Regions from separate parts of the Homo sapiens genome. Here region 2 is linked to region 1. Evidence: promoter capture Hi-C in 16 types of primary human blood cells and fetal thymus (Javierre and others, 2016). All regions are on one chromosome and are shown on one strand. Each heading gives the region's core, a stretch centred on a gene start or on the middle of the fragment in contact. The rest is flanking DNA. Distances are from core to core; before and after follow the strand shown. Region 1 holds the start of CLASP1-AS1 (CLASP1 antisense RNA 1). Region 2 holds the start of HS6ST1 (heparan sulfate 6-O-sulfotransferase 1).

The links. Contacts are between HindIII fragments. The CHiCAGO score rates a contact against its expected background, and 5 or more counts as called.
Region 2: the fragment with the promoter of HS6ST1 here is called in contact with the fragment with the promoter of CLASP1-AS1 in region 1 in 1 of 17 cell types (naive CD8 T cells); the score reaches 5.5 in naive CD8 T cells.

The regions. Positions count from the first base shown.
Region 1 is chr2:121,528,724-121,533,612 of GRCh38, reverse strand. It overlaps CLASP1-AS1 (CLASP1 antisense RNA 1), which reads right to left and starts at 3,445. Exons shown (of 2, transcript XR_001739683.2): 1 at 2,838-3,445; 2 at 1-1,235. It overlaps CLASP1 (cytoplasmic linker associated protein 1), which reads left to right. Exons shown (of 41, transcript NM_001395891.1): 3 at 3,288-3,366; 4 at 4,833-4,889. It overlaps RNU4ATAC (RNA, U4atac small nuclear), which reads right to left and starts at 2,733; the gene lies at 2,604-2,733. RefSeq lists an enhancer at 3,056-3,185 and a silencer at 3,376-3,575. The HindIII fragment of the contact is 3,511 bases long and covers 669-4,179 here.
Region 2 is chr2:128,315,297-128,320,544 of GRCh38, reverse strand. It overlaps HS6ST1 (heparan sulfate 6-O-sulfotransferase 1), which reads left to right and starts at 1,677. Exons shown (of 2, transcript NM_004807.3): 1 at 1,677-2,508. The coding sequence starts at 1,982. RefSeq lists silencers at 1,335-1,744, 2,439-2,668 and an enhancer at 3,670-3,819. The HindIII fragment of the contact is 4,073 bases long and covers 159-4,231 here.

The sequences.
Region 1 (4,889 bases), core at 2,196-4,695:
TTCCATAAAACAGAATTGTGTATTCCAGTGAGCCATGCAGAAGAAGTTGGTTTTATAAACCTAAGGGCTGAAGAAAGCAGAAATAGGGGGAAAAAAAAAGTACCCTTACCACGTGCCAGGCACAGTTTACATACACACTTTATTTAACCCTCACAACAACCCACGAGGCAGCTGTTATTATTGTCCATGTTTTACAGATGAGGAGGTTAGGCACAAAGAGGTTTTTATAGTTAATTATCAGAGTGGTCTTCTGGGCAAGGACTTTTTCATGTATCCCTTTCTTCAGTAGGGAAATGGAAACCCAGGAGAAGGGCCTGAGCTGTGAAAGTGCCTGGAACTGCCTTCTGTCCTCCTGGCTGACACCCTGGACCTCTCCTGTCCTATTTCTCTGGGGCTCAGGTGCATCTACCCACTCAGTCTTCTTCGGGAGTTTCCAGGCTCCCCAGTTCCTCTAGGCAACGCATTGAAACTTGACTGTCCGGGGCTTAGCGAGGCCTTCTCTGCTCAGACCTACCAAGTAAACTGCCATCCTGGAAAAGCTGACGTCAGCTTTCCCCCAAATAAACAATAGTCCTCTTTACCTTAGCCTTGAACGATGTATGAAGGGATGTTTCTGTCATGAATAACACCCCTACCTGCAACCAGTAATGCAACTGTGCAGATAAGCTTAAGATTTCACCAGACAAAAGCTAAATAACTCACTTAAGTGATGGGCTGTTCTTTTTAAAAAATAAACTTTTTTACAGAAAAATTACAAATATCTCATTATTATATCTAACATTAATGTGGTTTATTACAATTAATGAGCCAGTATTGATGTATTATTATTAACTAGAGTTCATGCTTTATTCATATTTCCTTAGTTTCTACCTAAGGAAAAATGTCATCTTTCTGTTGCACACTCTTTTCCAGGATACCTCATTACCTTTAGTTGTTATGTTTCCCTTGGCTCCTGTTGCTGTGACAGTTTCTCAGAGTTCTTGTTTTTGATGACCTGGACAGTTTTGAGGGGTACTGGTCAGGTGTTTTGTAGGATGCCCCTCTATTGGAATTTCTCTGATGTTTTCCTCATGTTTAGACTGAGCTTAAGGGTCTTGGGAAGGACTGTCACAGGCAAAATGCCGTTTTCATGACATCATATGACGTGTACTTGATGTTGACCTCCACCATCTGGCTGAGGTTGCGTCTGTCAGTTTTCTCCGCAGGATAGTTACTCCTCCACTTCATACTGTACTCTGGAAGGAAGTCATAGTGTGAAACCTAATCCCTTTTAGCTGGAAAGTAGAGTCATTATTTTAAAGTGTTTATACCATTATTATATTATTTAAAAAATCTGTTTACAAATTGTTCTCTTTATAAAAGTTTTAAAAATTATTTTCTTCAATATTGTCAAGTAGCCAGTTTCTTGCAAGAACATTTTATGTATTGTGGGGATTATTGGGCCAATTTAGATTCCTTCAGTTTTGAAGCAGTAGATTTCAAAGCTGAATAGAAAAGTCTGCAGTTTTTGCTTTTATCAGCCGCCAGAGGCAGGCAGGCACAGGCTGTATACAAGAAATCCTAACTGTTGCCCCGTCCTGTTTGGTTGTTGTGTGAACATTGGGCAGTGCCCGGCTTTGTGTTGGAAGCATGTTTAATGAAGTCTCACAGTGCAAAACTGCTTCATACGGAGGAAGGGTTTAATCTGACTATTGGACCATTCCACAAAAAGCTCACTATTTCACATTTCTTTTTCTTTTTTTTTTTGAGACCGAGTCTTGCTCTGTCGCCAGGCTGGAGTGCAGTGGCCCGATGTTGGCTCATTGCAACCTCCGCCTCCCAGGTTCAAGCGATTCTCCTGCCTCAGCCTCCCAAGTAGCTGGGACTACAGGCATGCGCCGCCACGCCCAGCTAATTTTTGTATTTTTAGTAGAGACGGGGTTTCACCATGTTGGCCAGGATGGTCTCTATCTCCTGAGCTCCTGATCCGCCCGCCTCGGCCTCCCCAAGTGCTGGGATTACTATTTTTTTTTTTTTTTTGAGATGGAGTCTCGCTGTCGCCCAGGCTGGAGTGCAGTGGCGCGATCTCTGCTCACTGCAGGCTCCACCCCCCCGGATTCACGCCATTCTCCTGCCTCAGCCTCCCGAGCAGCTGGGACTACAGGCGCCGGCCACCTCGCCCGGCTAATTTTTTGTATTTTTAGGAGAGACGGAGTTTCACTGTGTTAGCCAGGATGGTCTCGATCTCCTGACCTCGTGATCCGCCCCCCTCGGCCTCCCAAAGTGCTGGGATTGCAGGCGTGAGCCACCGCGCCCGACCTGGATTACATTTTATGTGAGGTGCAAAGACCTACTGAAACTTCGTCTCCTATTGAAACTTGACCTAGACTACTGGGCTGACTCAGCATAAGGAAGTTACAGAACAGTTGATGATCGGCGTAAAGTTAAAGGGGTGAAGTTCTGTTGAAATCCTTCCCGTTTAATCACCGCAAAAACTGAAAGAACTTTACTTGCGACACTAAAACCACGCGTCTTGTGCACCCTCTACTGGTTTAACCACAAAGTACTAGTTTATTTACGAATTACTGCTGTTTGAACTGATAAGTCTATGAAAACAGGTTTTCATTTTTCCAAAAATTGCACCAAAATAAAGCAAAAGCTCTAGTTGATGCGGGTGTGTTGTTCAGGCGTTAGCAGTACTGCCCTCACTATGCGCTCATTGGACAGTAGCGCAACCCCAAGAAAAGGATGGTTATAATAGAAAGTCCCTGGGCTGCAAGCAGGAAGCGCCAATACCTGGTAGGGTTGTGGTAATTAATTCGTGAGCCTCGCCCTAGTCGGTCTGGTAGCTAGCTTACCTCCAGCCTCCACAGCTTTCGACGACACCCCAATTCTTTGTTTTCTGAGGCTCCCGAAGGGTCGCAAAAGCGGCGGCTCGGTTTTACCCAGAAGACCGCGCGTCGGCCGCTCGAAAATTTGCATACGCTTTTCTCGCCGGGGCGGGGCTGGCGGGGGCGGGACCGCGGCGCGCTCTTGAACTCCACCCGCAGCTAACCCGGGTTTGGCTACGCTGTATTGCCTTTTATTTCGTTTCTCCTCACCGAGTATTTTCCATTATAGCTGTACATAGCTCTTTTTGTGGAAGATCATCCTTCTTCGTGCTAATCTCTTTGGTCCTCCAGTCGGCATGCGTCTGGACTCTCGGACTGCGTCTGGGCCGGAAATGTCTAGGCCTCCCCGGAGCGGGTGGGCGGGAGCGCTGCCCCGCAGGCCGGCTGCTAACAGGCTCCCGGTGTTTCCCGCTGCAGGTGGTTCTGCTGGGCATGGACATCCTGTCCGCCCTGGTGACCCGGCTGCAGGATCGGTTCAAGGCGCAGATCGGCACAGGTGAGCTGCGGCACTTGTGGAGCGGACCCGGCCCCTTCAGACCCCCAGCCTTCCCTCGGCCTCCCCGGCTCCCAAACCCTCCCGGCAGCCACCCTGCCTCCCCTCCAGCCCCCTCTCCCTCCCTTCCGCTCCTCCCAAACAGCCAGTCCCCGCCCTCCCCCGCAGCCCCCCTAAGCACTCGCAGCCTGGGTCGGCCGCCCCGCTGCCTTCCCTTCCAGCTGGACTCCCCTGGCCTCTGGGCCTGCGGGCGCCCTTACCCTCCCCCATACCTTTGTACTGGCTTCACTGTGTTCTCACACGGAACTTAGTAATACGTGTTCTAATATGAAATATTAGTGCCATTTTTATTTCTTATGCTAAATTAGCTGTCACTCTTTAGTGCCAACCAAGTCATATTTTACCCTGACCCCGGTCCCCTTTAATGAGAGGCAGTTTTCCTTGAGAAATCCTATAAAACCAAGCCAGTTGTATTTTTCTCCAGATGATTATGGTTGGCATGACTATTTTCACCTTGATTGTAAATGTCATTACAAATGTATAGTAAATGTTCACTCTTATTTTGAAGGGAAAACAGTATGTCAGCAAAATGAAACAAAACCCACAGATTTCATAGATTTAAATACCTCTAAATTCCTGACCTCCGGTGTTTCATGGGGGTAGTATAAACACTAAGCATCTCTATGCAACCATTTCCTTATGGAATTTCTCTGTTTTACGTTGGTACACATGTATTCTTTACTGTTAACTTTCCGACCAATATGCTCCTTCTGAAAAGGTCATGAGCACCGACTGTTTACAAATTTAAAAAAAGCTTTTACTTTTAGACATTTGATATTTTAATAGTGTTCCATTTTCCTCCTAAATTAGCTGAATTATTCAGGGATATCTCATGTAATAGAGGTTTACAAACTCTTAAAATAAGCTGATCTCTGGTCTACAGGTGCACTTGGACCACTGGTGGGAGGGTCCACCCTGGGTATGTCGGGGAAGATGGAGAGCTGGGCTCTGTCTCATGTGTGTATGGGCGTGATGTAAAACTAAAAATACACAATAGTGATGAAACTTAAGATTTATTCATAAGTGCCCACTCCTTCCACCCCCAAACACATATACTGGAGCCCCTCTCCTTGTGTTTTACCTAAATTTTCCTTTCTGTTGACTCTTCCTCTCAAGGTCTTCCATTTTTATCAGCTTACAAATACGTTGGGAACTGGCTGGAGGAACGTGGGGTAAGGAGGAAGACAAATAGTGTATCTGTCCATGCAAAGGATTTTGCAGACTCTTTTGGTGACTTTCATGGACTTCAGCAAGGAGAGTAGAGCTGTGAGCAAAGATGAGTGGTTTTAGAATGAGATACATCATTTAGGTCAGGGGTTTGTCTTCCCACATAATTGAGATAGGAATACTTGGTGACCACAGACCCCCAAATAGGGTTTCATTTGATCAGTTTCCATTTTGATTTTCAGTGCTGCCAAGTCTAATAGACAGACTAGGAGATGCTAAAGACTCTGTGAGGGAGCAGG
Region 2 (5,248 bases), core at 428-2,927, 6.8 Mb before region 1:
TGCTCCCCTAGGCCACACAGGAAGGCTCCCCAGGGCTCAGGCACAGACTGCGTCAAGGGGCTGCAGGCAGGTCCAAGCACACTGCAGGGCGGCCCCACCTGTGTCCCATGGGGACTGCACCCCCACTCCTATAGGAATGAGTCACTTCTGGAGAAGCTTGTCCAAGCTGCCCCCAGGACCCTCGGGCCAGGGACAGTTTTAAAGCAGCCTACAAGATGAGCAGGGGCTTTGGGGCCCTAGGTCCCACTGAGGACCCCACACCATGGACTCCAGGGTGCGCTGGGCTGTGTTGAGGGTTCTGCACCCGCCTGTCCACAGCGGATATTCTTGCGGTCCCTTTGGAAAATGCATGCCGCCCGCTCAGCTGGGTTTGGGGTGTTGGTTTTTCCAGCTCTCTGGGTTTGCTTCCAGGAGGGCTTTCTGGTGTGATGTTGTCTACGTTTAACAGCTTTACTGAGGCATAATTGACACCCCATGATCGCTTCCGGTCCCTAACAGAACGGAAGGCAGGGCACCACCCCGCCTCCCCCCCCACCCCGTCCCCGGCAGGGCTTGACGTGGACACTGGGAGCCCACGCCTGGCAGCCAGACTCGCTCCCAGAGCCCTCGCTGGCCTGAACCAACACACTAGGGCCCACCGCGGCCGGCCCTGCAGCTGTGAGATCCTGGCAGGTCCCAGCCCCACTCCTGCGCTTCCGACGGGCTGCAGCCTCCGAGTACTGCCAGAGCCCAAGCAGTGTGAGTGGGCACCTGGCGGGACCCCCCGCCCCACGAATGCCGCGCGTGCTTGCCAGGCTGGGCGGCGGCGAGTGAGGAGCCCGCACCACCCGGCCCACACACGAGCCAACGTGGAGCGAGCCCTCCGCAGCCAGGTTGGGCCCGGGCCGCTGGACTCTCCAACCAACCCACGAAAGACAGAATATTTGGTGGGCACTCACGATTCTTAAGAATTGGCTCAATGTTTTATAACTCTTTCATTGGAGTATAATAAACATGGATGGGGGAAAATGCACCTCGTCTGATATTCTTTTCAAACAAGGAGGAAGCCATAAAGCCGCTCCGCAGGCCTCTGCAGACAGCCCAACATCTCTTCAATGCGGGGCTGCGGGGCACTGTCCCAAAGCCAGCCGCAGGGGTGAGGGGGTCGAGCAGGAAAGGAAAGCCTCGCTTTCCCTCTCGGTCCTGGTGGTGGGCGGCCCCCGCCGCCCTGGTCCCTGGAAGTGCAGCCCAGTAGGCTAGCGTCTAACTTCAGCGCCCCAGCGTGCAAGGTCAAGGCCTTTCCTCCCGCGCGGGCTGCGGGGACGTGGGCGGCTGGGACTTGGGGAGGAGGGGGTACGGACCCAGGCTCCAGAAGCGCCAGCCGCCGCGCCCCCTCACCGCGGCCCCCGCCAGGAGAGCCTCCCACGCCTCGGCTCCGCACTGCCGGTTGGTCCCCCACTCCCCTGAGGGCGGAATCACTTCCCAGTCGCTGGCTGCCCGCCTGCTAGCGGCCTCGCCACCGCAGCAGACCCAGGTCCCGCGCCCAGCACCCGCGGCGAACCCCGGCACTCCGGAGGCGGGGCCGAGGATCGGCGCGGGCGGCGACGGCAAGAGACGCCACGGGGGCGGGCCAGGGGCGGACCGGGGCGGGGCGGCGGCGGCGGACTGCGGAGACGCGGCGGCGCGCGGGGCGGCGCAGAGCGTTCTCGGCGCGGAGTGGAGCGGAGCGGGCTGGTGCTGGGGGCGCGGAGAGCGCTGTGCTGGCCGGGGCCGGGAGCGGGGCCGAGCGGGAGCGGAGTCGGGCGTCGGGCCCGGGGAGCCGGGGCCGGGCGGGGAGCAGCCATGGCACCGCGGAGGGTCGGGGCCCGCGCCGCTGCGGGCGGCCTGGGCGCCGAGTAGCCGGGCCGGGCCGGAGCGCGGGCGGCGGCGGAGGCAGCTGCGCCCGCGCCTCCTGCCCTCCCAGGCCCCGCGCCCCGCGCCCGGGCCCCGGCGATGGTGACACATGCGGCGGCGGCGCGCCGGCGGCAGGACCATGGTTGAGCGCGCCAGCAAGTTCGTGCTGGTGGTGGCGGGCTCGGTGTGCTTCATGCTCATCTTGTACCAGTACGCGGGCCCAGGACTGAGCCTGGGCGCGCCCGGCGGCCGCGCGCCGCCCGACGACCTGGACCTGTTCCCCACACCCGACCCCCACTACGAGAAGAAGTACTACTTCCCGGTCCGCGAGCTGGAGCGCTCGCTGCGCTTCGACATGAAGGGCGACGACGTGATCGTCTTCCTGCACATCCAGAAGACGGGCGGCACCACCTTCGGCCGCCACCTCGTGCAGAACGTACGCCTCGAGGTGCCGTGCGACTGCCGGCCCGGCCAGAAGAAGTGCACCTGCTACCGGCCCAACCGCCGCGAGACTTGGCTCTTCTCCCGCTTCTCCACCGGCTGGAGCTGCGGGCTGCACGCCGACTGGACCGAGCTCACCAACTGCGTGCCCGGCGTGCTGGACCGCCGCGACTCCGCCGCGCTGCGCACGCCCAGGTGAGCGCCCGGGCGGCGGGATCCTCGCGCAGCTGCGCCCCCGAGGCCGGGCCGTATGCCCGCCGTGCTGTACTGGGTCGGCCCTGCCTTCCCTACCCCCTTCTGCCCTCTTGGGGGCCCCCACTCGCCGGCACCCCTCCCGACCTGCCGAGCGCCCGAGGCTCCCAGCTCCTCTGGGTGAGCCGGCTGTCACCGCGCTTTCTGACCTCGCTCTCACTCTCTTCCTTGCCTTGTGCTGCCCTACTGCCGGCTTGACTGCGCAGCGCCCGGGTTTTCTCCAGGGTCCCCGCCCGCTGCCCTCGGGCCACCTTACCTGCTGTGCGCCGTGAGGTCTGGCCCGCCGGACTTGGGGACGCGGGCTTCTGGGTGTGTGCGTGGCCTACCTGGAGTGTTGGCTTCCCCGTGCCGCTTCGGTGCTGTGGTCCCAAAAGTGGAAGTGAGAGTAGTGAGGTGCCGCCCCTGTGCCTGGAGTGCCTGCCTTCAGAGGGTGGGGGAGCTGCCAGGGAAGGGGGCTGGCTCTGCCCGCCTGCCTGCCGGTGTGTGCAGGTAGAACAAAGGCCCTGTTGACCTGGGGCTGGGGGCGGGGAGGAGGCAGTACCGCCTGTCCTCCCAGTGGGGCCTGCCAGCCGAATTCTTCCAGGCACAGGCTTGCCTGGAGAGAGGAACAAAAGCCACCCGATGGGGGACCACCTTCCCCAGGAAGCTACCAGCCAGGTTGGGGGTAGTTGAGCTGGTCCAGGGAACCTGTGCTGCCACACCCCTTCTCTGGGGTCCCCCAGCCCCATGTCAGAGCTGAGCTGCGTGAGGACACAGAGCATGGGAGGGGTGCCGGGGCAGCTCTTCTGGGAAGCCGTTTGTAGGGGAACCTGGGGTGCTGCTGGGTTTCCAGCAGTTAAAGTTGGGGTTATTTTCCTCCTGTTCCTGTTGGTGCCCATTCGTCCTGCAGGGATGCCCTGCGGGGCCTTTCTCCCCAAAGTCTGGGCTGGGAAGGGCCAGGAGCAGGGCTTCTTGTCTGCCTTTTGTTTCTCTTCCAAATTTGCCTTAGGACTGAATTTGCAGACAGGCTGGTGGTAGGAGGCTGGGCGGTTGTAGGCGTGTTGGCTGGCACTCTTGGGTCCAGAGGCTGTAGGCTCTCAGGTGTGCCTGGGGAGCCTGGAAGGTCCAGCCAGCCTGGAGCTGAGCAGAGTCCGAGACACTGCTCCCCTGCACAGACCTCAATCCTTGCTCTGTGGTCTTTCTCAGGCTGTCAGGAAATTGGGGTCCTAGAGTTGGAGGGGCATCTTCCCACTTTTCTTTCTCCCCCCTCCCCCAACTGTACACACACACACCCACACACACACACACACTGCAGCTCCCAGCCTGGGAGGTGATGTTCTGAGCCTCTTACAGCCACATTCTACACTTGGCGGTCACAGAGCTGCCTGTCTAGGGCCCCTGAAGGATTGCTTCCGGCCCAGCACTTAGTCTGCTCTGCACAGATGCACGTTCCTGCTGCAGGGCCCCCCTAACCCTGGTCCAGCTTCTCTGTGCTAGGCTCAGCTGTGCCTGGGACCACAGCCATGCCCCCACCCACCCTTCCACCAGTCAGAGCAGTAGGCTCCCAGAGTTGGTCACTGACCAATACCAACAGACGCCTCCCTACCTGTGGGGGGTGCAAGGATGGGGGTCACCCCCTTTGCCAGAGGGACTTAGCTCGGCAGCCTAAGAGGATTGCGTGGAAGCTTCGGGCCGCCAAGAAGCCGGAGCTTTTGAAACAAGCCTGCTCAGCAGAGGCCACCTCAGCCCTAGATTGCAACCAGGATGCTCTTCCTGCAGCCCCGCACGCCTGTGGGTCCCCAGGGTGAAGAGCCTTGGCCTCCTTTCTCTGGAGTTTGTCCATGAGAGTGGGAGGACCAGGTGGGGCCGATGGGGCCCCAGGTGCTACACCAGGAAGGCCCGGCTCCCCCTGCCCAGGGAGCATGTGTGGAGCAAGAATGGAAAACGCAGATGCCTCTGGCGGAGGTGGGCTGCCAGCCTGGAAATTGCTAGCTCAGCAGCATGCGCCAGGGTTGGGAGGGGCTTCCAGGGCCGTCAGGAGGCCCCCTCTGCCACCCACTCTGGAAGTGGGTTGTGCTACCGGGCAGGTGACAGCACCCCACCCTCCGAGTCCCTCTTCTCCGCCTCCACTCCCTTCAGTTCTGTTGCAGGCACTAGGTAGATTGCTTTTTTAATGAGCTTCATCAGGAGGCCAAGGTAATCTTGCCTTTGTGCTCGCAGGGCCAAGCTGCACTGAGGTCCACCTGCTGAGCGCTGCCCCGCCACCTGAGTCTTCTGGCCCAGGCTGGAGCTGGGCTAAGCTGCTCTGCTGTGGCGGTTGGGATGCACTTCCCCCATCTGCCCAGGGACCCAGCAACTCTCTATCAGGGGCAGTGCCCATCCCTGCTGGGGTGCCTCATGTTAAGTGGGCTTGGTGTCAGGAGACTCAGGTGTCACCCTGGCCCTCCTGCGATGTCTTCACTCTGGCTCTGCACTGCCATCTCCGTGTTCTCTGGGGACTGAGACCCTCTTTTCCTTCTATCTCTGCCTGCCTCCCTGCCCAAGGCTGGCTCCTGGAACCTCTCCACCAAGCCCCTCCCATTCCCTGCTGCGGTTTGGGAGGGTCTCAGTGGGCCTGTGGTGCGCGTAAGAGAGGTGGGGCTCTTCCCGGCTGCCAGCCTCCCCATTGCACAGTATCAGCCTGGGCTGCTCTGAGCTGGGCATC